Linked DNA regions of Homo sapiens: all the other regions are linked to region 4. Evidence: promoter capture Hi-C in 16 types of primary human blood cells and fetal thymus (Javierre and others, 2016). All regions are on one chromosome and are shown on one strand. The core of a region is centred on a gene start or on the middle of the fragment in contact, and the rest is flanking DNA. Distances in the headings are between cores, read along the strand shown. Region 1 overlaps TXNDC12 (thioredoxin domain containing 12). Region 2 overlaps ZYG11B (zyg-11 family member B, cell cycle regulator). Region 3 has its middle 42 kb from the start of BTF3L4. Region 4 holds the start of ORC1 (origin recognition complex subunit 1). Region 5 overlaps TXNDC12 (thioredoxin domain containing 12). Region 6 holds the start of ZFYVE9 (zinc finger FYVE-type containing 9). Region 7 has its middle 21 kb from the start of COA7.

Evidence for each region. Contacts are between HindIII fragments. The CHiCAGO score rates a contact against its expected background, and 5 or more counts as called.
Region 1: a fragment that was not itself captured here is called in contact with the fragment with the promoter of ORC1 in region 4 in 1 of 17 cell types (fetal thymus); the score reaches 5.9 in fetal thymus.
Region 2: a fragment that was not itself captured here is called in contact with the fragment with the promoter of ORC1 in region 4 in 2 of 17 cell types (M1 macrophages and naive CD4 T cells); the score reaches 5.2 in M1 macrophages.
Region 3: a fragment that was not itself captured here is called in contact with the fragment with the promoter of ORC1 in region 4 in 1 of 17 cell types (endothelial precursors); the score reaches 5.1 in endothelial precursors.
Region 5: a fragment that was not itself captured here is called in contact with the fragment with the promoter of ORC1 in region 4 in 1 of 17 cell types (fetal thymus); the score reaches 7.8 in fetal thymus.
Region 6: the fragment with the promoter of ZFYVE9 here is called in contact with the fragment with the promoter of ORC1 in region 4 in 2 of 17 cell types (endothelial precursors and M1 macrophages); the score reaches 7.8 in endothelial precursors.
Region 7: a contact is called between a fragment that was not itself captured here and the fragment with the promoter of ORC1 in region 4, in 9 of 17 cell types (M0 macrophages, megakaryocytes, erythroblasts and 6 more). The highest score is 11.5, in M0 macrophages.

The regions. Positions count from the first base shown.
Region 1 is chr1:52,029,309-52,032,650 of GRCh38, reverse strand. The region is part of intron 2 of TXNDC12 (thioredoxin domain containing 12); the gene reads left to right. It overlaps KTI12 (KTI12 chromatin associated homolog), which reads left to right. Exons shown (of 1, transcript NM_138417.3): 1 at 1-548. Among named protein-coding and RNA genes, the nearest start is that of KTI12, 2.8 kb to the left of the region's middle. The HindIII fragment of the contact is 2,042 bases long and covers 755-2,796 here.
Region 2 is chr1:52,741,596-52,745,089 of GRCh38, reverse strand. All of the region lies in intron 1 of ZYG11B (zyg-11 family member B, cell cycle regulator), which reads right to left. Among named protein-coding and RNA genes, the nearest start is that of ZYG11B, 17 kb to the right of the region's middle. The HindIII fragment of the contact is 3,010 bases long and covers 1-2,959 here.
Region 3 is chr1:52,096,787-52,100,184 of GRCh38, reverse strand. No RefSeq gene overlaps it. Among named protein-coding and RNA genes, the nearest start is that of BTF3L4, 42 kb to the right of the region's middle. The HindIII fragment of the contact is 1,024 bases long and covers 815-1,838 here.
Region 4 is chr1:52,402,859-52,406,526 of GRCh38, reverse strand. It overlaps ORC1 (origin recognition complex subunit 1), which reads left to right and starts at 2,104. Exons shown (of 17, transcript NM_004153.4): 1 at 2,104-2,281. PRPF38A (pre-mRNA processing factor 38A) reads right to left here and starts at 1,925. Exons shown (of 10, transcript NM_032864.4): 1 at 1,648-1,925; 2 at 688-847. The coding sequence starts at 1,777. RefSeq lists an enhancer at 1,406-2,605. The HindIII fragment of the contact is 1,229 bases long and covers 1,043-2,271 here.
Region 5 is chr1:52,051,285-52,054,860 of GRCh38, reverse strand. All of the region lies in intron 1 of TXNDC12 (thioredoxin domain containing 12), which reads left to right. It overlaps TXNDC12-AS1 (TXNDC12 antisense RNA 1), which reads right to left. Exons shown (of 3, transcript NR_126385.1): 2 at 3,012-3,077; 3 at 2,178-2,454. Among named protein-coding and RNA genes, the nearest start is that of TXNDC12, 2.1 kb to the left of the region's middle. The HindIII fragment of the contact is 1,063 bases long and covers 1,055-2,117 here.
Region 6 is chr1:52,140,202-52,143,579 of GRCh38, reverse strand. It overlaps ZFYVE9 (zinc finger FYVE-type containing 9), which reads right to left and starts at 1,491. Exons shown (of 19, transcript NM_004799.4): 1 at 1,177-1,491. It overlaps LOC107984956 (collagen alpha-2(I) chain-like), which reads right to left. Exons shown (of 5, transcript XM_047439476.1): 2 at 2,291-2,387; 3 at 2,099-2,145; 4 at 1,177-1,803. RefSeq lists a silencer at 832-1,691. The HindIII fragment of the contact is 13,456 bases long and covers 802-3,378 here.
Region 7 is chr1:52,676,181-52,679,424 of GRCh38, reverse strand. No RefSeq gene overlaps it. Among named protein-coding and RNA genes, the nearest start is that of COA7, 21 kb to the left of the region's middle. The HindIII fragment of the contact is 2,221 bases long and covers 652-2,872 here.

The sequences.
Region 1 (3,342 bases), core at 526-3,025, 370 kb after region 4:
TTTATTTCTCTGGGAAAAATAGGCTGCAGGTCTCCAGAGCATATCGATGCAGTACTGTACTAGAGCTGTTGTGACTGATTCACTCAAACTTTCCTGCATACCCCTGTGCCAGGCCTTGGGTTTACAGCATAAGTTCAGACTAAAGAGAATGGAGAACTATTGTGGTGCAACCTGGCAAATCCCTCAGAGGACAGAGCTAAGGTGGACAGGGATTACCTAGATTGGATCCTACTTGGGCTATCACAGAGCATTGACCATTGGCTTCCCTCATCTGAGGCGTGGGAGAGCAGACTGGATAGATGAGAATTGTTTTAAAACAATTGTGAACAGAAACTGAAGATGGTACAGTTCTACATCTGCACCTGCCCTTTTTTCATACCACAAAAGTATTTTTTGAGTACTGTACTGACTTTTTGCTAGTTTCTATTCTGGGACCGAGTTCACAGATAAATCCATTGGTTTGTATCCTTGAGAAACTTTGTTTTTGTGGAAGTAAGAAAGTTATCTACTAGATTATTTCCTCTAATAAAATCTTTTAAAATAGTCTACTGGAATCTCTTTCACTTAATGTTCCCTGTGTAACTTCATGTAACATTTTAGGTATACTTGTCATTGTTCTGCCTTTAAGTGAAGTAGTATTTTGATAGTTCTGAGAGAGTAGATGTTTTGAGCTACTCTACAGTAATTATATTATGACAATTTCCGTAACTGTTTTGCTTCATTCTGCATTTCAAGGCAAATATCATTGTAAGCTTGTCTTTCATTCTTCATTGATTTCATTGAACAAATGGTAGGTACCTACTTTAACAGTGGCTGTGATTTTCAAAGACCAATTAGATACAGTGTTTTTGCTCTTGAGATATGTGGTGAGAAGCCGGGTGTGGTGGCTCATACTTGTAATCCCAGCACTTTGGGAGTCCAAAATCGAGGTCAGGAGTTCGAGACCAGCCTGGCCAACGTGGCAAAACCTCGTCTCTATTAACAGTACAAAAATTAGTTGGGCGTGATGGTGTGCCTGTAATCCCAGCTACTCTGGAGGCTGAGGCACGAGAATCGCTTGAACCTGGGAGGTGGAGGTTGCAGTGAGCTGAGATCGCACCACTGCACTCCAGCCTGGGCAGCAGTGAAACTGGGTCTTGAAAAACAAACAAAAAGAGATATGTGGTGAGAAATACAAGTAAAAGATAGAATTAGGCTGGGTGCGGTGGCTCATGCCTGTAACCCCAGCACTTCAGGAGCCCAAGGCGGGTGGATCACAAGGTCAGGTGTTCAAGACCAGCCTGACCAACATGGTGAAACCCCATCTCTACTAAAAATACAAAAATTAGCCGGGCGTGGTGGCACGTGCCTGTAATCCCAGCTACTCAGGAGGCTGAGGCAGGAGAATCGCTTGAACCCGGGAGGCGGAGGTTGCAGTGAGCCGAGATCGCGCCACTGCACTCCAGCCTAGGTGACAGAAGGAGACTCCATCTCAAAAAAAAAAAAAAAAAGATAGGATGAAATGGGCTGGTGGTCAGAGGATGATGACAAAAGACAAAATGCTTTGGAAACCTGGTGAAGAGGACTAACTAGCTGTTGGGGGAGGTGGTTTTGGAAAGGTTTTAAGAGGAGTTAACATTTGAACCATCACTGTAGAATAAAGTCAGTAAAGGGCCAAATGGTAAATGTTTTAGGCTTTGTGGACCATCAAATGCTGTTGCTACTTATAGATGGTAAGTAAACAAATAAGCATGAATGTATTTTAATAAAACTACACTGAAATGTGAATTACAATTAATTTTAACATATCACAAAGGAGTCTTTAGATTTGCTTTGCAAACATTGAAAAATGTAAAAATATACAACAAAATATTTGCATATCATGGGCCCTACGGAAGCAGACGGTGGGCTGGATTTGGCCTGCAGACCCTAGTTTGCCAACCCCTGCTCTAGAAGGATAAACAGATGTTTGCCAGGGAGAAAAGAGAAAGCAAGACATTCGAAAACATGCATGCTCTGAAACTATGGAGCTGTTAAAAGAGAGGGTAGATGGGCTGCCTTGGTTGATGGTATATTCCTTGCTCATCAGGTAATCTATACTACCTTTTGTTTCTGATAAACAGGATTCATGTGTGAAATGGAAGTCTGGATGAGGCAAACTCAAAAGGCTTTTTCCAACCTTCATTAAGTTGGTTATTGATTGAATTGGGTCTAACCATGGATTCTGGATTACCATTCTAAATTGAAGTAGACTGTAACCGTCAGAAAGAACATTGGTTTTGGAGTCGGACTTCTGAGTTAGCTAGTAAGTGGCAGAACCTAGGTTTTTGTTTTGGGTTTTTATTTTTTTTTATTTATTTATTTTTGAGACAAGGTCTGGCTGTCTCCCAGGCTGGAGTGAAGTGCTGTGAGTAGCTGGGACTACAGGCATGCACCCCACGACCGGCTAAGTTTTGTATTTTTTTGTAGAGACAGGTTTTCACCATGTTGCCCTGGCTGGTCTTGGACTTGTGAGCTCAAGTGATCCTCCAGCCTCGGCCTCCCAAAGTGCTGAGATTACAGGTGTGAGCCACTGTGCCCGGCCTAGAACCTAGATTTTATGGGGCCAAATATTTACTCTATTGAGCATCTCAATTTTCTCATTTCTATTGTGAGACCATTAATAGTATCTACCCTAGGGTTATTTTGAGGATTTAAATGAGATAATGCATATACAGCACAATGTCATATAATAAACGTTCAGCACATTTTGGCTATTATGGTTACCTATATCCTACTACCCACCTAAACTTGCCCTGCTCATTTGGTTTACAAGCTTTTACAAGTATTGCAGGCAGAAGTCCATCCAGATGTGAGGTAGGCCTAAGGTGAGGTGACTGAATGATTCATTTGACACTTATTAAATGAGTTAATTTATGTATATTTACAGTAGTGCCTGGCACATGGCAAATGGTATATAAGTGTTTGCTATCAATAATATATGTGTCAGATGTAAAGGATATAGAGACAGCTAAGAGTTCCTTGTCTTAGGAATCTCCAAGTCCAGTGGAGGGAGATGGGTAAATAATAGGTACAGATCAATATGTTAAGTGCATGGTAGCTATTATACAGTGTATGTTGTTATGGTGACATGGGGTTGTGTGATGGAGAAAGCTAATGGCTACCTACTTACATGGGGTCTTCCTACTGTCATTTGAGCCTTGAGAGCTTAAGAGCTTCCTCTAGCCAGTCTGGTTCGGGTGGATTGCATTGCTCATTGTGAACAGTTTCCTCCCTGATTATGAAAATTATATTGTAGAAAAATCATGAAATACAGATGTAGTGTAAGGAAAACATCCACAGTCCCATCATCCACAGAAAACT
Region 2 (3,494 bases), core at 205-2,704, 340 kb before region 4:
CTGAGCACTTGTGGACTTCAGAATCTCTGAGCAATGAGGTTTATGTTTTGGTTAATTATAAGAAAAAATATCCTTTGTGAATTATGCTGGTAGCAATGCCTTACAGTAAACAAAGCATATTCACATCCTGATTTCATTTGATACTCACAATAACCTTACAAAGTAGAAGAAAAAGTATTAAAATTTTCATTTTACAGTTAAGAAAGCTGAGGCACAAAAATGACTTCTCTAGAAATATATTTTTTTTTTGATATGGAGTCTCGCTCTGCCAGGCTGGAGTGCAGTAACGCGATCTCAGCTCACTGCAACCTCCTCCGCCTCCCGGGTTCAAGAGATTCTCCTGCCTCAGCCTCCTGAGTAGCTGGGACTACAGGCGCGTGCCACCATGCCCGGCTAACTTTTTGTATTTTTAGTAGAGACGGGGTTTCACCATGTTAGTCAGGATGGTCTCGATCTCCTGACCTCATGATCCGCCCGCCTTGGCCTCCCAAAGTGCTGGGATTACAGGCGTGAGCTAGCGTACCCAGCCCTTCTCTAGAAATATCGTAGTTAAGAACAACAGTAGAACTGAAGTTGAATTCTAGTGTTATCACAATGGTCAAATTACCTAGCTCTTCTGACACTCAGTTCTATCCTATGTAGAGTGGGGATAATATTAGTACAGTCATGTGTTGCTTAACAACAGGAATATATTCTGAGAAATGTGTCATTAGGCAATTTTGTCATTGTGTGATCATAGAGGTGGTAGATAGGATGCAAAAACCTGTACAGCATGTTACTGTACTGAATACTGTAGGCAACTGTAACAAAATGTTAAGTATTTGTGTATCTGAAAAATCTAAACATAGAAAAAGGCTGGATGCAGTGGCTCACACCTGTAATCCCAGCACTTTGAGAGGCTGAGGTGGGCAGATCACTTAAGGTTAGGAGTTTGAGACCAGCCTGGGCAACATGGTAAAACCCCATCTCTACTAAAAATAAAAAAATTAGCTGGGTGTGGTGGCTTGTGCCTGTAGTCCTAGCTACTGGGGAGGCTGAGGCAGGAGAATCGCTTGAACCCAGGAGGCGGAGGTTGCAGTGAGCTGAGATCAATTGTGCCACTGCACTCCAGTCTGGGTGACAGAGCGAGACTCTGTCTCAAAAAAAAAAGAAAGAAAAGAAAAGGTACAGTAGGGATAGGCATAGAAGATAAAAAATGGTACACCTGTAGAGGGGACTTAACATAAATGGAGCTTGCAGGACTGGAAGGTACTTGGAATATATCAGTTGAATCAGTGATAGTGAATGTGAAGGCCTAGGACATTACTGCACACTATTGTAGACTATAAATACTTAAGCTACACTAAATTTATTTAAATGTTTTTTCTTTTTGGGGGGTGGGGACAGAATCTATCACCCAGGCTGGAGTACAGTAGTGTGATCATAGCTCACTGCAGTCTCAATTTCCTGGAATCAAGCGATCCTCTCACCTTAGCCTTTGGAATAATACGTGGGACTACAGGTGTGCACCAAAGCACCCAGCTAATTTTTTTTTATTTTTGGTAAAGACAAGGTCTTGCTATGTTGCCCAGGCTGGTCTCGAACTCCTGAGCAAATTTGTCTTTCTTCAGTAATAAATTAACATTATCTTACTGTAACTTTCTTAGCGATTTTATGAACTTTTACTTTTTTTTTTTTTTTTTTTTTTAGTATTTATTGATCATTCTTGGGTGTTTCTCGGAGAGGGGGATTTGGCAGGGTCATAGGACAATAGTGGAGGGAAGGTCAGCAGATAAACAAGTGAACAAGGGTCTCTGGTTTTCCTAGGCAGAAGACCCTGCGGCCTTCCGCAGTGTTTGTGTCCCTGGGTACTTGAGATTAGGGAGTGGTGATGACTCCCTAATCTCAGAACCAAATGGAGTCTCCTACGTCTACTTCCCTCTACACAGACACAGCAACAATCTGATTTCTCTCTCTTTTCCCCACATTTCCCCCTTTTCTATTCGACAAAACCGCCATCGTCATCATGGCCCGTTCACAATGAGCTGTTGGGTATACCTCCCAGATGGGGTGGCGGCCGGGCAGAGGGGCTCCTCACTTCCCAGACGGGGCGGCCGGGCAGAGGCGCCCCCCACCTCCCGGACGGGGCGGCTGGCCGGGCGGGGGCTGCCCCCCACCTCCCTCCCGGACGGGGCGGCTGGCCGGGCGGGGGCTGCCCCCCAGAACTTTTACTTTTTTATTAACTTTTTGACTCTTTTTTTTTTTTTTTGAGACGGAGGCTCGCTCTGTCGCCCAGGCTGGAGTGCAGTGGCACGATCTCGGCTCACTGCAAGCTCCGCCTCCCGGCTTCAGGCCATTCTCCTGCCTCAGCCTCCCGAGAAGCTGGGACTACAGGCGCCTGCAACCACGCCCGGCTAATTTTTTGTATTTTTAGTAGAGACGAGGCTTCACCATGTTAGCCAGGACGATCTCGATCTCCTGACCTCGTGATCCGCCCGCCTCCGCCTCCGAAAGTGCTGGGATTACAGGCGTGAGCCACCGCGCCTGGCCTACTTTTTGACTCTTGAAGTAACAAAACATAAACACATTGTACAGCTGTAAAAAAATACAAAAAAAATTCTCTCTTTTACATCTCTTTTTCTATCTTTTATTTTTTTTAGAGACAGGGTCTTGCTCTGTCACCCAGGCTGGAGTACAATAGCATAATCACAACTCACTGCAGCCTCGACTTCCCAGGCTCAAGAGATCCTCCCACCTCAGCCATCCGAATAGCTGGGACTACAGGCACGTGTCATCATGTCTGGCTAATTTTTTGTTTTTGTGTAGAGACGGGGTCTTACTATGTTGCTCAGGTTTGAACTCCTGGGCTCAAGTGATCCTCCTGCCTCAGCCTCCAAAGTGCTGGGGTAATAGGCGTGAGTCACCATGCCTGGTCTCTCAACTCATAAGAATCAGGCTCAAGATGTCCTACCCAAAAGCTTCCTAAGACTGACAATTCCTGTAACAGAACACAAGGGCTTTCACAGTGCTCCTTTATTGTATCTTTGGGTGACTTTTTTCTAAAGATTGGGCCAGAAATCAGGTGACTACAAAAATTACAAACTCGACAATTTAATGATAGAAATAGATTTTTTATGGATATCTTTCTAAAAGACTATGTAATACTATGATGAAGAGTGTGGGCTTGGGAGTCAGACTGCCTGGATTAAAATGCCACCTCTACCATTTACAAACCTATATAACCTTAAGCAAAGTACTTAATCTCCCTGAACCTCAGTTTCATGATTGTAAAATGAAGACAAGAGCAGTGCCTATGTCATAGGATTGTTGCCAGAATTAAATAAATTCTAAATGCAACACACTAAGAACAGTAACTGGCATATACTACCTGCTCAATAAATGTTATTACCACAGAATATCAGCTGCATAGAAAAAAACCCCGCATTTTCTTCTCTACTGTATTCTCAGAGCCTAAAACAATGCCTACTACATAGTGGGCACTAAATGTTTATTGC
Region 3 (3,398 bases), core at 77-2,576, 310 kb after region 4:
TGTGACATTTCCATTTAACAGTTTTAATTTTTTTTTCTTAATTTTTCTTAACCTCTGCCTCCTGAGTTTAAGTGATTCTCATGCCTCAGCCTCCAGAGTAGCTGGAATTACAGGCGCATGCCACCACGCCTGGCTAATTTTTGTATTTTTAGTAGAGACGGGGTTTCACCATGTTGGCCAGGCTGGTCTCGAACTCCTGCCATCAAGTGATCTGCCCACCTCGGCCTCCCAAAGTGCTGGGATTACAGGTGTGAGCCATCATGCCCGGCTTCAAATGCCCTTGCTCTAAGATCATTTGGTGGCAAGGAACAGTCTCTCAAGCTGGCTTAAACGGAATGATGGTGGCAGAGGGAGGTGTTTTTAAGAACACAAAAATCTCACTGACAAGTTAGCAACCCAGGGACAGAAAAAGGACAGCCAGGCATCATAGGACAGAAATTGTGAAATCATTTTCTGAGACTGTTCTCTTTTTAGGGTTGTCTATTATTTCGGCTTCATTCTTATAGCTTCCACTGCTTGTACCTGGCCCAGTGTGAGTGTTCTAGCTCCATCCTACAGGATCGTTCAGTCCAAGGGTCCATTAGCATCTGATTCAGTCTTAGTACAGAATCCTTAGAAATAAATGGATTGGCTCAGCTGTTAGTCTATGGATTGGTTCTTGGGTCACTGTTTTGCCCTCGGTCTGAGCATCTATTACTGGTGTGGAGTCACGCTCTGTAAACATGGCTGTCTAGGCTTCTTAAGAAGGATATGTGGATGTAAAACAATATTAGAATGGGTGTGAGTTGGGCTAAATACACTGTGATAACAAGCTTGCTCTAGCAAACATAAAGATGGGATGAAGATCCTTTTCTTCTGTGACACTTAAAAAGAGTCTGTAGCACTGACCTGGTCCTTGGTATGACCTTTTATTTTTTGAGTGTATGCTATTTTCTAACAACTGTAATACTGTGGAGGTAGGGATTAGTGCCAACTCATCTCTGACTCCTCAGAGTACCAACTCAAAGTTTCTCAGCACTGTGGTCTTGGGAATGACTTATTGCTGAGGTAAACTGTATCCATAATGTTTTTGATCGGTTAGACTTACCTACAGTTGGCTGATCTCTTCCACATGGGGTTCCTAGAGGCATTTCACAGGTTTTTTTTTGTTGTTATAGTAAAATATTCATAAAGTTGACCCAGTATAGTGGCTCATGCCTGTAATGCCAACACTTTGGGTGGCCAAGGCAGGCAGATTTCTTGAGTCCAGGAGTTCAAGACCAACCTGGGCAACATGGCGAAACCCTGTCTCTACCAAAAAAAAAGTACAAAAATTAGCTGGGCATGGTGGTACACACCTGTAGTCCTAGCTACTTGGAAGGCTGTAGCAGGAGGATTGCTTGAGTTCAGGAAGCGGAGGTTGCAGCAAGCCAAGAACAAACCACTGCACTCCAGCCTGGGTGATAGAACAAGACCCTGTCTAGAAAACACACACACACACACACACACACACACACACACATACACACACACACACGATATACATAGTTTGTCATTTTAACCAATTTTGAGTACACAATTCAGTAGCATTAAATACATTCATATTGTTGTGCAAACATCATGACTATCCATCTCCACAACTTTTTCATCCATTCCAAACTCAAACTCTGTACTCACTACACAATAACTCTCCATTCTGCACTCCCTTTCTACCCCATAGTAATTCTTTCTGTCTCTATGAATTTGATCATGCTAAGGCAGGAGTCGCCAACCCCCAGGCCATGACCCATATTGATCAGTGACCTGTTAGGAACCAGACTGCACAGCAGGAGGTGAATAGAGAGTGAGTGAACAAAGCTTCGTCTTTATTTACAGCTGCTCCCCATTGTTTGCATTACTGCCTGAGCTCCGCCTCCTGTCAGATCAGTAGCAGCATTAGATTCTCATAGAAGCGTGAACCCTGTTGCGAACTGCACATGCGAGGAATCTAGGTTGTGGGCTCCTTATGCAAATCTAATGCCTGATAATGGGTCACTGTCTCATATGACCCCCAGATGGGGCAGTCTAGTTGCAGGAAAACAAGCTCAGGGCTCCCACTGATTATACATTATGGTGAGTTGTGTAATTATTTCATTACATACTACAATGTAATAATAATAAAGTACACAATAAATGTAATGCACTTGAACCTTCCCAAAACCATCCCCCAGTATGCCCCCAACTGGTTTGTGGAAAAAATTGTCTTCCATGAAACCAGTTCCTGGTGCCAAAAACGTTGGGGACCACTATTCTAAGGTACCTCATATAAGTGGAATCATATAACATTTGTTCTTTTATGTCTCGCTTATTTCACTTAGCATAATGTTTTAAAGGTTCATCCCTGTTGTAGCATGTGTCAAAATTTCCTTCCTTTTAAAGGCTGAAAAATATTCTGTTGCATGTACATACCATATTTTGTTTATCCATCCATCCATCCATCAATGGGCACTTGAGTTACTGTTGTGAATAATGCTGCTATGAACATTGGTGTACAAATATGTTTGAGTCCCTGCTTTCAATTCCTTTGGATATATACCTAGAGGTAGAATTGTTGGATCATATGGTAATTCTACATTTAATTTTTTGAGGACCCTCCACATTGTCTTCCACAGTGGTTGTACCATTTTACATTCCCACCAGCAATGTACAAGGATCCCAATTTCTCCACATCCTGACACTTATTTTTTATAATAACCACCCTAATAGGTTCACATCTATTAGGTGTGCTAGCTCATTGTGGTTTTCATTTGCATTTCCCTAATGATTAGTGATGCTGAGTATCTTTTCATGTGCCTGCTATCTGTATATCTTTGGAGAAATGTCTATTTAAGTCTTTTGCCCACTTTTTTTTTGTATTTTGTTTTTACTCCTTTTTTGAGACAGGGTTTTGCTCTGTTACCTAGGCTGGAGTACAGTGGTCTGACCATGGCTCACTGCAACCTCTGCCACCTGGTATCAAGCAATCCTCCCATCTCAACCCTCCAAGTAGCTGAGACCACAGGTGTGTGCCACCACACCTGGCTAATTTTTAATTTTTTTGTAGAGACAAGGTTTCACTATATTGCCCAGGTTGGTCTTGAACTCCTCAGCTCAAGGGATCCTCCTACTTCAGCCTCCCAAAGTTGCTGGGATAATAGGCCTGAGCCATGATGCCCTGCCTTTTTGACCACTTTTTAATTGGGTTCTTTTTATATTGAGTTGTAGACATTCTTTATATGTTCTGAATATTAATCCCTTATCAGATACTTGATTTGTAAATATGGGGTGCTTTTCTAATTTTTTTTTTTAGAGAGAGGGTCTTATTCTGCCACCTGGGCTGTAGTGCAGTGGCCTGATCATAGCTCACTGCAGCCTCAAATTCCTTGGCTCAAGAGATCTTC
Region 4 (3,668 bases), core at 855-3,354:
TAGTTAATGGGCAACAGAATCTGGATGTGAACCCAGATCTTACACCTCTTAACCACCACCTTTTGTTGTTTGATTTTCACCCCTGAGCGTCCAGTGCCTACCAACATATCAGGCACTCACTTTTGCTTAATATGTATTTAGTGAATCTGTGAAATCCTTTTTCAGGGAAAAATTACCAAAACTGAGAAAGTAAAGTAGAAGATTAATACAATCAGAACAGATAAAATACAAACTTGGCAGGGTGTGGTGGCTCATGCCTGTAATCCCAGCACTCTGGGAGGCCCGGGGGGGGAGGGGATTACCTGAAGTCTGGAGTTCGAGACCAGCCTGGCCAACATGGTGAAACCCCATCTCTACTAAAAATACAAAAATTAGCCAGGCGTGATGGCACATGCCTGTAATCCCAGCTACTCGGGAGGCTGAGACAGGAGAATCACTTGAACCCAGGAAATGGGGGTTGCAGTGGGCCGAGATCGCACCACTGCACTCCAGCCTGGGCAACACAGAGAGACTCTGTTTCCAAAACAAAAAACAAACAAAAAATACAAACTCAAGGGCTCAAAAGCAAAAATCTGGAGTGGAACTCTCTAGAAATGAGATACATTGTGTACACCCCTCTTAACCAAAGCCCAATTCTAAACCGCCAAAATTAAACCTCTTATATTAGCTAGTGAACATTGCACTCACTTGAAATCTTCATTTTTGATAAACTCTACAATGATATCCTTCTCGGGTTGAATTTGAAGCATCTTCAAGGTTAAACACAGAAAGGGTGTTGGTTTTATGTTGCCACCATAGACGCCACCCACAAACCTTAACTCCATGGCTTTATCGACTACAAGTTCAGCTAAAAAACAAAAACAATACAGTAACATATTAGGGCTAAGCTCTTCCTAGTTGGAGTGGAGTTAGTTCAAGCTTTGGTTCTCCTAAATATACATCAACAGTGTAATATTAGGAGAACGAATGTGTATTAATAACAGTAACGACAACAGCTAATATACATTGAGAATGGATAATAAAATAGGTACCCTGCTAAGCTTTTCATATTATCTCACTTAACCTTTTTTAACAAGTCATGAAGAAAGTTCTAGCAATGTTCTTATTTCCAGGTAAGGAAAATGAGGGCTAAGAAAGGTAAAGTGACTTGCTCAAGGTCCACAGATTGTCACAGGACATGGATTTAAAGCCACAATTCAAATCGGAAGATTACCTGGAAGACTTCTCTGAAGCACTGATATTTATAAATACTGGAACCGGCCCAGATCTAAGAATAGTAAGATCATGAATTTGGTTTCAGGCATATTAACGTTAGGTCCTTAAAGACCTTCAACAGATTGTGTCAAAGTGTTATATCCGGATCCCTGAGCTTAACACTGTTGCAACCCAGCCTGCTATCATTAAATACGGAATAACTCACAACACCCAACTGAGACAGCCTTCAGAATATGACCTTACCAGATTCATCTGTGCCTCTAATACTCAACACAAGACGAGGCACTTAGCAGGCACTCAAAATTTTTCTGAATGATCGACATACTCCGTTCCAGTACCACCCCCAGAGGCCAGTCGCTAGTCCTACCCGCGCTCGGTCAGGAGAAATGGGCCACAAGGGGGCTGAGAGGCGCTCCGCGCGCTTCCACTTACCTGTAAGTCCAAAGCACTCCTCTTTCCAGTACTTGGACTCATAGATTCGCGTTCGAATGATCTTCTCCACCAGATATTGAGGGTTGGTGCCATGGATGCTGTGCGCATCCTTCACTGTACGGTTAGCCATTTTAGAATGCCTTCAATTCTATTTCCGTCGGATCCTTTAATGCCTCACATCCAGGTTCAGAAAAAGCACCTAGAGGAATGGAGAAAGGTGGAAGAAGTTTCACTAAACAGCTTAGGCGACCATCTTGAAGCCGGAAACACCGTAGTGTAAAGGGCTTCCGCTCCCCGCGTCGCCTATCGAATCAATGATGGCGGCTGCATGTTAGCGGATGTACGTCATGCGCCCCTCTTAGGTGTACGGAGTGGGCGGGGCGAGCTAGTTGGTGTCGCAACGAAGGGACGGTCTGGGGGCGGGGCCACGCCGATTGGCGCGAAGTTTTCTTTTCTCCTTCCACCTTCTTTTCATTTCTAGTGAGACACACGCTTTGGTCCTGGCTTTCGGCCCGTAGTTGTAGAAGGAGCCCTGCTGGTGCAGGTTAGAGGTGCCGCATCCCCCGGAGCTCTCGAAGTGGAGGCGGTAGGAAACGGAGGGCTTGCGGCTAGCCGGAGGAAGCTTTGGAGCCGGGTGAGTGTGGCGTCCAGCGGGCTGCGAGGGACTCGGGGGAGGGCGCATCGGAACCTCTGAAACTGAGGACGTTCTCTGTAGACTCAGTCATTGATTCTTTTAGCTGACATGTACCAAGCGCCTGTTCAGTGCCAGGCACTGTTCTGAACTGTTAAGAGCGTTCCTCTGTTCCACACTCCGATTCCTAAAAGGCTTCCCGCGCTGCAGGGAACTGAGTTTGCAGGGGGGAAGGCGGAAGCCAACAGCCTAGAAGCAGGAGCATTCCTGCCCTCCGCACCCTGATGCTCAGTGATGACTTTCCCTCCATCTGCATTTGTAAAGCACTCTACTTGTTTCGTTCTTTGAGCTATAGTGTAGGAACCACTACAGGGAAGGCGGAGCAGAGGTTATTACCCCATTTTACGGACGTAAATTGCGCCCAGGGAGGGACGTGTCTTAGGTCGCTTTTCGTGACTAAGCAGTCTGGGCTCCTACCCAGATCTTTTTTTCAGATGAGCTCCTAACTGCTGGGCTGTCTGTCATTCACCTTCTTTTCAGAAGAGAAGTCTGGTGGCCCCCTTCCTACTTCTCTTTTCTAACCCCGGAATTGAAGAGTCTTCTGCTGTGACAGTTGGAAAAGGCATTCTTATCCTGATCTATTTGTGAAACTGCAATGATTATATACGATTCTAGTTGTCTGTAACACATGAATAATAGTACCCTCGTCTCTGCTGTGTTAGGTGGGCTGGAAATGCCAAAGGAGTTTCCAATATGACAGAATGGTTTAAGTCCCTTTGCAACAGTTTTTAACTTTAATGGAGGGCAATATGTGGACTTTAGGAGGTTTGTGAATCTGCCGAAATTGAATGCAAAATTTTGCTTGAATTATGTTAGTTCCATAGTATTCATCAAATGATACTTAATAAATAAAACCACTGTACCTTACAAATAAATGCAAGGGATTAAGGTAGTGGGAAAGTGGATTTACCATTTTGCATTTTTTCACTTAATCTTCCATTATCCTAAAATAGTGCCTGGCACACGATGGGTACTTAATAAATATTGGTTGAATAAACGGAAGATTCTATTTTCTCCATTTTGTGGGTAAGCAAATTGAGGCCCAATCCACAATGTTCAGTCAGTGGCTGGGAAGCCTGATTTATTGTAATAAGTACACCAAAAGCAAGCTCTCAGTTACATATTAACATTATCCAGTTTCACACAGTGTGTTGTAAGGTGAAGTAGTTAAGAGCACAGTAATTGCAGTCTGGCTTTTCCGGGTTTGAGTTAAGGCTGTGCCATCCTGTATAAGATAGGATAAGTTATCACCTTGAAGTGATAATAACATCTACTTTTCTTTTTTTTATTTTGAGACAGAGTTCTGCTCTGTCACCCAGACTAGAGTGCA
Region 5 (3,576 bases), core at 337-2,836, 350 kb after region 4:
CCTGGAGTTTGAAGATTTCTTGGGGTAGAGAGTAGCGGGTCTGGGGAATGGAGAAGTTGTACTTGAGGCCTCTCTAAATTATTGGATTGGGGGGAAGGAATGGCCCGTAAATTAAGGAAAGCATGTTAAGAGCCCAGCATAGTGCCTAGCACTTGGGAGGTCCTGAGGAACGGTCACCTTCCCACCTGGGAGAAATAGAGCCGTTGGGGACCTGCATATGCAGAGGACCCTGTTCTGGGTCTGAAGATTTCTCTCGTTACTTCTTCCGCGAAGAGCTAGGTTACTGCCACTTGCTTGCCTTTGGGAAACAGCACCTGCATCCCAGGTAGCTGTATCTAGTGCATAAGAAGAGCCAAGCGAATGGTAGAAGGTCTGCTGTTTAAGGGTCCCCAACAATTGTCCTTGCTGTGGTTCAGCGAAGTTTTTTTGTAAGTGAGCGATCAGTGGTTATGAATGGAGGTTAGGAGGTGTGGCCCCCTACTCCATCCATTACCTACATCTCCATTCTAAGTTTTAACACCTCTCTCCTCATCAGCCCTTACTTAGTTGAAAGTTGGACTGACAGTCTGTGAACTCAGAGTTTATGCTTTTCTAAGTAGATGAATTGTAGCATGGATCCCAACCCCTCTTCCTTTTTTTTTTTTCACTGACCTTACTGTATGGAATGATTCTGCTGCAATCCTTCTGTTTTTGTTTTCTCTTATCCTCTCTATTTTCACATCTATTGGTGAGTAATAAGATTGGGTGGGCATTCATTTTGCCTGAATGCAATCATTCCTTCATTCCGTAAATAATTTTTGATCACCTCCTATATTTCAGGCACTGTCCTAGGCACTAGGGATATAGCTGTAAACAGGACAGACAAGGTTCCTACTCTGGTGGAGCTTATATTCATGTCAGAGAGACAGAGTAGACTCATGAACAAATTAATAAGACAGTTTCAACTAGGAACAAGTGCTGGGAAAACAATAAGACTGTGATGGAATAGGAAGTAGAAAGGCTGGGGAGGTTGGTGGAGCTGGCATCACTTGAATTATGAAGGTCAGGAGAAGCTTTTTGGAGAAGGTGATATGTGGGTTTCCATCTCAGTGATGAAACTGCATGACAAATCCTGTTAGGCCAGAATGTTTTAAATACTGACAATCCCATTTTAAAACAGACTACCGTTTTTTTTTGTTGTTGTTTTGTTTTGTTTTTTAGACAGAGTCTCACACTGTTGCTCGGGCTGGAGTCCAGTGGCATGATCTTGGCTCACTGCAACCTCCGCCTCCTGGGTTCAAGCGATTCTCCTGCCTTAGCCTCCCGAGTAGCTGGGATTACAGGTGCCTGCCACCACGTCTGGCTAATTTTTTGTATTTTTAGTAGAGACGGGGTTTCACTATGTTGGCAAGGCTGGTCTCAAACTCCTGACCTCATGATCTGCCCGCCTCGGCCTCCCAAAGTGCTGGGATTACAGGCATGAGCCACTGCGCCCAGCCAGCTACTGTATATTTAAAGTTGTAAGTACTGAGAGTAACAGAAGAGTAGAGTGTTGGGTACGTGGGTTTAGATCTGAGTTTTTTCTTTGCTGTTTTTTCTGTTTGTTTGTTTGCTTTTGTTTTTGAGACGGAGTCTCACTCTGCCAGGCTGGAGTGGAGTGGTGCAATCTCGGCTTACTGCAACTTCTGCCTCCCGGGTTCAAATGATTCTCCTGCCTCAGCCTCCCAAGTAGCTGGGACTACAGGCATGTGCCACTATGCCCAGCTAATTTTTTTTTTTTTTGTATTTTTTTGTATTTTTAGTAGAGATGGAGTTTCACCATGTTGGCCAGGCTGATCTCAAACTCCTGACCTCAGGTAATCCTCCCTCCTTGGCCTCCCAAAGTATTGGGATTATAGGCGGGAGCCACTGCGCCAGGCCTAGATCTGAGTTTTAATTTGTTCTGCCACTCACTAGCTGAGTAGCCTTGGGCAAGTTTCTTAACTCTCAAAGCCTCCGTTCCTCATCTGCAAAATGGGCATCATAACTACCTCAGACACTCAACAAATAATTTGCTCTGTTCAAGTTACTGTGTTAGGTGTAGGTAATACCTTGGAATCAGGTATTTTGTATTTTTATTCCTTGTTAGATATTAAGCTTTGTGTGGTTGTTCCAGTTACCATTGTTGTGTAATAAATCACTCCAAAATTTAGTGGGCATGAAGAAATCATTTTATTATGCTCACAATTGTGTGAGTAAGGAATTCAAACAAGGCACACTGGGAAAGGCTTGTCCCTGTTCTATGATGACTGGGGCCTTGGCTAAGCTGGTTACCTCTCCATGTGATCTTTCCGCATGGGCTCCTATGGGTTTCCTCACAGTAGCTTTATGGGAGGCTGGATTCCAAGAGTGCGTGCCATAAGAGAACAAGGTGGAAATGCATGGCATTTTTGTCACCTAGCCTTACAAGGCACATAGCATCACTTCCACAGTACCCTGTAGGGGCAGATTCAAGGGAATGGAATATTAGGACCCCCACCCTCACCCCCAATGGGAGGTATGTTGAGGTCACATTGTAAGAAGGGCATATCTGCCACAGTGAACCAGGACTATTTCTGTCTTGTTCATGCTCAGGAATATTTGTTGAAAGAGGAAATGAATGATAAACATGATAATTGTGATTCCTGTCCTTTTTCAGCTTGCAGTCTGGTAAGATACCAAGACAAGTAAGCAGACAGTTACATGGCAGCATGATATGTGCTTTAAGCAGAGAAATACCAGGTAGCTGCAGGAGCACATAGAAGGGCAGCTTAGGGCAGTGGGGCTGGGTTGGGAGGATTCAATCAAAAAACAAAAGGCACTTAATATTGTGTCGGACACTTAGAAAATATTTAATAAACATTAACCAGTATTATTTCCCCCATGGAAATAATAATAATAATCCCTAAAAGGAATTAATACTATTTCAAACTTTTGTTTTATGTATCTCTTGGGTATGGATTCTTGGGAAGTAGATTATACCCCACTTACCCTACCTTCCAAAAAAGTGCTACCTGAGGCAATGGTTGCTGAAAGTCTTAATGAGATGGATTTCTTCCCAGATGTTTCCGGACGATGGCCTGGTGGTTTACAGAGAGGAGAGACTGAATGATCTCTACTGTTTTCATTAAGAAGAAGCAGCACAGTGATGTGGACTTAGCACTAAATAGAAATTAGAAGGCCCAGGCTGGGCACGGTGGCTCATGCCTGTTATCCCAGCACTTTGGGAGGCTGAGGCAGGTCAATCACCTGAGGTCAGGAGTTCAAGACCAGCCTGGCCAACATGGCGAAACCCCATCTCTACTAAAAAAAATACAAAAATTAGCCAGGCGTGGTGGCACACGCCTGTAATCCTAGCTACTCGGGAGGCTGAGGCAGGAGAATTGCTTGAACCTGGGAGGCGGAGGTTGCAGTGAGCCAAGATAGTGCCACTGCACTCCAGCCTGGGCAACAGAGTGATACTCTGTCTCAAAAAAAATAAATAAATAAATTAGGAGGCCTGGATTGTAATCCTGATCAGGCCATTTAGTTCTGGTCCTACGTGACAACCAATTAATCAATGAGAAAGTTGTACTAGAA
Region 6 (3,378 bases), core at 242-2,741, 260 kb after region 4:
CAATCTGTGAGATTATGGGTGATTTCTCCTATTATTAAATATTTATTAAGAGCCAACATGGTACCTTTCTATAATTCCCAAGTTTTCTACAATAAGCATATTTTTTCATGATTATAAAAGTTTTGCAAGTACCTATAAGTCTTATAACTTTCACATACATAACAGGAAAACAAGAATAACCTGTAATCACATTTCTCACAAAACATAAATATCTGACTTACGGTATCAAACTGTAATCAGTAGCATTTTCAACATTAATATCAGAACAAATCATTTTATTTCTAAAATTTAGCATGTATCCCATTTCCTTCAGGTATTTATTAGGGTAGCTGGCACTTAAAGAGGACTTAAAATCCTTTTGCCAACTATTCTCTGGATCTCTTTAAGTGGAACATTTTTGTACCGAACACTGAAGCATAAAAATATTTCTTCTGGCGGGGTGTGGGGGGCAGACCTTTGTAAAAGACGTTTTTATAACTGTGAGTGTTTATCTACAAAACTTAGCATCGCAAAGATGCGATGGGGCTTTCTCCAAGGCAGACCACGCTTAGAGGCAAGATATAATATAAAGAGGCAGGAATGAGCAACCGGCAGGTGATGAAATTTCACCTCAAATAAGACGCAAAAGGTTGTTCTCGAGCAAGCCAGATCCATGAATGACACTCCAGGAGTAGCAGGGGCTCTCTTGGTCCCGCACTCTCTGCACCCCCAATTCTCACCCTGGCCTTCCTCTCCTCCCCCTTTCCCCGCCACAACCGGGATTCTGAGGGACTCGGTATGGGACGCGTGGAAGCCAAAGCTTGTTTGCAAACAGGCGTCATCTGCCTCCCTCCGGGATGTACGTGCAGGGCCCGGGCTAAGAGGCTGCGCTCGGCCCGGGCCCATGCAAACCCGAAAGGCGGCCGTGCTCCTGCCGGCCCCCAGCTCCACACACCCGGCCGCGCCGGAACCGAGGCCGGAGCGAGGGCTTCCCAACGGCGCGGGGCCTAATCGCCCCCCACGGCCTTCAGCCTCCCGGGGGACGCGGGGAGAAAGGGCTGAGGCCCCAGGACCGCAGGGTGGGGGAGGCGACCGCAGTGGCAGGACGCCCCGTCCGCCCGGCCCGCGGTCTGCCGCCAGGGCCCCCACAGGCGGCGGGAGGCCGGCGAGCCCCGGACCACGCCGCGCCACACTCACCTCGAGCAGCGGCCGCCTCCGCTTCAGCATGGCCACGGGGGTCGTCCCTGAGCCGAAAGCCTCCTCCGGAGGGCACCGGCGCGGCCCCAGGCGCCGCCGCGAAACCTCCCACTCCTGTAGGAGCTGCGGTAGCCGCAGCTGCGGCTGCTACTGCTGCTAAGGCCCGGCACCCGCCCAGCCGCATCGGCGCCCGGGCCGCGGCAGCCACGCGGATCCCGGAGGAGCGCCGCCGAGCCGGGCCGGGGGCGCAAGGCTGCGGCGGGACGACCGAGGTGCGGCAGGCGGGGATCCTCAGCGAAGCCTCCAGCGTCGGGTGGCCGCTCCTGCCGCCGGCGCCGCTGGGCCACAGCGCCCCCTGGACCCCACGTCCGGCTACGGCGTCGGGACTGCGGCGGCCGCGCTGGGCACGAGCCGCAGGGAACGCTAAGGAGCGCGGCCTGGGGGCGGCGAGGGCCCCGTGCTCCCTGCGTAGCCCGCGGCCCGCGGCCGGCCCGGGACTCCGCTTCCCGGGAACCGGAAGCCCCTCAGTTCCCACCAACCCCTGGCGTTCCCCGCCCCCGCCAGACCCGAGCACCTTTTCGTTCTCTCCCGAAGATACGTGAACGTTCTTGTCACTCGGACCCGCACCTGAGAGCAGGAATATAAGGGAATCTCCGTTTGACTCTCACGGTTTCGGGGGTGGCAGGGAGACCCCCTTCTAATTCCTTTAATGCGTCTGGATGAAAGAAGAGTGACCCAGAACAAACCTTTTTTTCAAACATACACACTCGTCTCCCAAAACAGACGAAGGAATTGTCTTTGACCTTAACTTGTTTTTTTATCTACTGTGTAGATCATTAAGAAATTTTCTACAGATATCAACCAAACCCTTAACACCTAAACCACCACCCCCACAAAACAAAAATGAAAAAAAAATACATACATATATATATATGCCAAGCCAGAGAAGAGAATAGCCAACGGGTTGTCCTGAAATTCATAAACAACTTAAAGGTAAGCAAAGAATCACCCATCTTTTACTAACATCCTCTCCCTCCCAACCTCTTCTCTCCCACCTTTCCACCCCTCATCCCAGGCAAATCCTAGTAAGGCTCTGAAGGAAGGAAATTATTACACAGTGGGGGCTATGGAATCATTCTGTTTACAGATGCCCCATATTTGATCCCAGTCAGCCTCTAGGGTGCAAACATCAGAACCAAAAACAAACACGACTGTCAGAGGGGAAGTAGGGAAAGAAAATTCTCCAAATCCTCTGATCCCTAAATTTTCCAAATACACTTTTTTAACAGAGTGGTATACTAGAATGTGTAGTGATTTTGGTGTCAGACACATACCAACACTACCAGTTCCAGTTCTGTCATGTATATATAGCTTTATGACCCTGGGGAAGTTATGTAACATTTTTGAACTTCAGTTTTCTCCTGCCTGCCTTGCTGGTTGTTGAAGATTGGAGATAAAGAGACTGGCCCATAGAAGATACTTAATAAATGTTAGTTACAATTTTTATTGGTTCCAGTTCTTTTTCTTAGGCTCAATTTTGTACTCCTCTGTTTTTGTTTCTCATTCTCTCTCTCTCTCTCTCTCTCTCTGTGTGTGTGTATGTGTGTGTGTATGTGTGTGTGTAACTGTATTTCTGTCAAAAGATAGATGCTCCATTCTTCATCCTCCCTAGTCTGGGTGAAATTTCCCTAAATTTCACTAATGGGTTTATGTAACACCCCTCCATGGAAGAATAGAGCCTCATACACTGGATCCTATGACATTCTGTTGCACAGCAGATAGCAGCATGCAACCAGTATTTTTTATGTATAAAAAATGTTATAAGGCAATCTCACCTTACCTTAGGTTATGGCCTAATGATGATAAATAATAGAAACTACAAAAGGTCTCCAGGAATCATTCATTTAATAATTGAGCAGCCACCATGGAGAAGATGTCACCTAGTAGCTCTCTTAATGAAAGCTGTTCCTGCATAATCCTAAGTGTGCCTTTGCCACATACTCCTGAGTCACAAAAAAATCACTATGCCCTTTCTATAACAAGAGAAACTGGGGCTCAAAGGGAAACCATGATTCATCCTCGCAGTGATTCTATGAGTTAGGTCCTATGCTACCATTTTACATGTGAAATATATCCAACCTAAGGAAGAGCTGGAAGTAGACCCTGAGATTCCCTTCAGTCCCCAACCTGATGCCCCAACAG
Region 7 (3,244 bases), core at 513-3,012, 270 kb before region 4:
TTGCTGCCATTCTTTGAATATCCAGGGAGCTGACGGTGAGGCTCTCCAGGGGTACTGATGGCACAAAACAGCTGCAGGGGGCATGCCTGGGGCAGGGGAAAAGTAGGGGGCTGCCCCTACTTTTTCCCTTCTCCACTGCCTGAGCACAGAGTCACTGAGAAGACTTGCACCTGCTGGGGGCCCAGAGTGGAAACTATTCCCAGCTGGTGCCCCTCCCCAGGCTTGAGGAATGGTGATTGTATTACAGTTTATAAATCAGGCCTCCCCACTGTCTAAAGGGGAAAGGCCAAAATTCTTTGCCCAGTGTGTCTCCCCACTCCCATGAGATGATCCCTGCCTCCATATTTAGCCCCATCTTATTCCTAACTCAGGCATCTTTGCATCAGGGAACTGCTTGTGGTCTCTGCACCACCTGCCCCACCCCCAAAATATCCCTATCTCTCTCTCTCTCTCACACACACACACACACACACAGAGAGAAATTAAGTGGTGATGGATGCGTTCATTAATTTGACTATAGTAATCAGTACACAATGTATATCAAATCATCACACTGTATACCTTGAATATATACACTTTTTGTTTATCCATTAAATATTTTAAAAGAAAAAGTAACAACAAAATACCCAGGCTGTTTCTTACAGCCAAGCTTTTGCTGATGTCTGGGTCCACCAAGACCTACGGAATGAAAATCTGGATTTTAAATAAGAAAACCACGGGAAATTCTTATTCATACTAAAATGGGCAGCCCACTCAAGTGGTGTAAAGCCGCAGCTCCTTAGCTTGTCACTACAACCCCTCTGCAGTCTGGTCTCCACACCTTCAGCTCTTTACAATTCCTAATAGTCCTTTAAAACTTAGCCCACATGTCACCTCCTCCAGGAAGTCATCCTGGACCCTCAAGTTCCGTGGTCTTCTGATAGTCCTTGTGCTTCTCTCAGTTCTTTCTTTCCTTTTTTAAAATTTAGTGGGTTTTTTTGTTTTTGTTTTTTTTTTGAGACAGAGTCTCACTCTGTTGCCCAGGCTAGAGTGCAATGGCATGATCTCGGCTCACTGCAACCTCTGCCTCTCAAGTTCAAGCGATTCTCCTGCCTCAGCCCCCCAAGTAGGTGGGATTACAGGCACCTGGCATCCTGCCTAATTTTTGTATTTTTAGTAGAGATGGGCTTTTGCCATGTTGGCCTGTTGGCCAGGCTGGTCTCGAACTCCTGGCCTCAAGTGATCCATCTGCCTTGGCCCCCCAAAGTGCTGGGATTACAGGCGTGAGCCACTTCGTCCAGGCTTAATTTGATTTTTTAAAAACAGAGACAAGTTCTCACTATGTTGCCCAGGTTGGTCTCAAACTTCTGAACTCAAGCGATCCACCTGCCTCAGCCTCCCAAAATGATGGCACTACTATGCCCAGCCTGTCTCTGTCCTTTTCACATGGTTTGGGACAGGCTGTTAAGTGCCTGTCCCAATAGATTATGTCCTAATAGATTATGTCTCATTTCTATTCCCTGTGCCTAGCTCAGGATCTGGTACAGATGAGATACATAATAAATCTTTATTGAAGGAAAGGGAAGGGAAGGGAAACTCTCAGAGACAAATGCTATCTTCCAGTAGATCAACTGAGCATTGAAAAGGTAGCGTTTTGGAAAAGAATCTGGATTTAAATAATTTCTCTGCAAATGTGTTATGTTTCCTCTATGAGCCTCATTTTCCTCATCTCTAGAGTAAGGATAATGTTTACTTTTCAGGGTTAGTGTAAGGGTTAAAGGGTTTAATGAGATAAAGTAAGTGCAGTGCCTGGCTCGATGCCTGGCACATTCTAAATTGTGTAATAGCTCACTGGAGGGCTATCTTTCGGAAGCAGAACTAGGCTTGTTCTGTACAGCTCCAGAGAGCAGAACTAGGCCCAATGGATGGAAGCTGCTAGGAGACAGAACTCAGTTCATCGACATCTGAGTGGAAGAAAGCATTTTCTACTTGGCAGAATGAGAAGCTCTGGGAGGAGGTGAACTTCCTATTACAGGGATATGCAAGAAGAGAGGAGATGCTCGCCTGTCAGGGCTGATGCAGAGGGGACTAACTCTATATGAGATTTGGGTGGAGTGAGTATGCAAAACCTGAAAGATGGGAGCCAGATAAGGCATTTCCATTCAGTGCCCTCCATAATTCATTATTCATATGGTCAACACTGAGGGCTTCCTCTAGGCTGGGTGGCCCTAGGTTGGGCGCTGGGGATGCAGGGCTGGATTTGACAGAGTCTTTATCATTTAGGAAATTACAGTCTAAATTTTGATCATTTATTGAGCAACTACTTTGTACCAGATGCTCTAATCATCTCAGGAAACTTTCATTCTCACTGTTTTTCAAATAAACTGAGGCTCAGCCAAAGTGGCTTACAGAAAGACTCACAGACCAATGAGTATTGCAGCCGGGATTAGAACTTAGTCCTGCTTGTCTCCTAAACCCTCTTCATATGACTCAAGGCTGCCTCACATCCTGATGTTGGAAACACTTTGCAGTCTCAGGGAGACCCTCAAACAGCACCCGAGGACCTTTTGGGTACCAAGTAGATGCTGATGAACAGGAGCTAAAAGGCTAAGGTCAGCTGCAGGAGGACATGGACTCCCTGTAGCACGCTCTGTGCCCAAGTTCCCTCCAGCTGGGGCCATGCGGAGAGTCCAGGAGAACTTGCTGAGGTCAGACTTCACTGCTCACATGACCAGCCAAGCTGCCTGGGCCAGGGCTCCCTGAGGGAACTTGAAACCCGGCTGGGTTCCATCAGCTCCAAGAATAGCAGCTGACCCTACTCTCCCCAAGATGACGGTGTCCGATCAGGTTCCAGGAGGCCCCAGTGGACTCCAGACATCAGTGGCATCAAGCTTTGACCTTGAAGCTGCCCTGGGGTGGTGTAATAACAGCAACATTCATTAACTGCCCACTGTGTGCAGGGCGCCTCCTGAAGTGGGGAACATCCTGTAAGGGAGGTCTAAGTATGGAACCCATTTTACAGGTGAGGAAATTGGGGCTCAGAGATACTGAGAACTTACCCAAAGTCACAGTGAATATGCGGCAGAGCTGGGTTGGAGCCTGGGCTCCCTCTGCCAGTGACCCTGCTTCTGTGAGGAGAGAAGAGCACTCTCAAGACCTCAGAAGACTCCTGGGCAGAGGAGACAAATCCCATCAGCTTCTAAAGGAATGAAGGCAGGGTGCAGTGGCTCACATCTGCAATCCCAGCACTTTGGGAGCTGGGAGT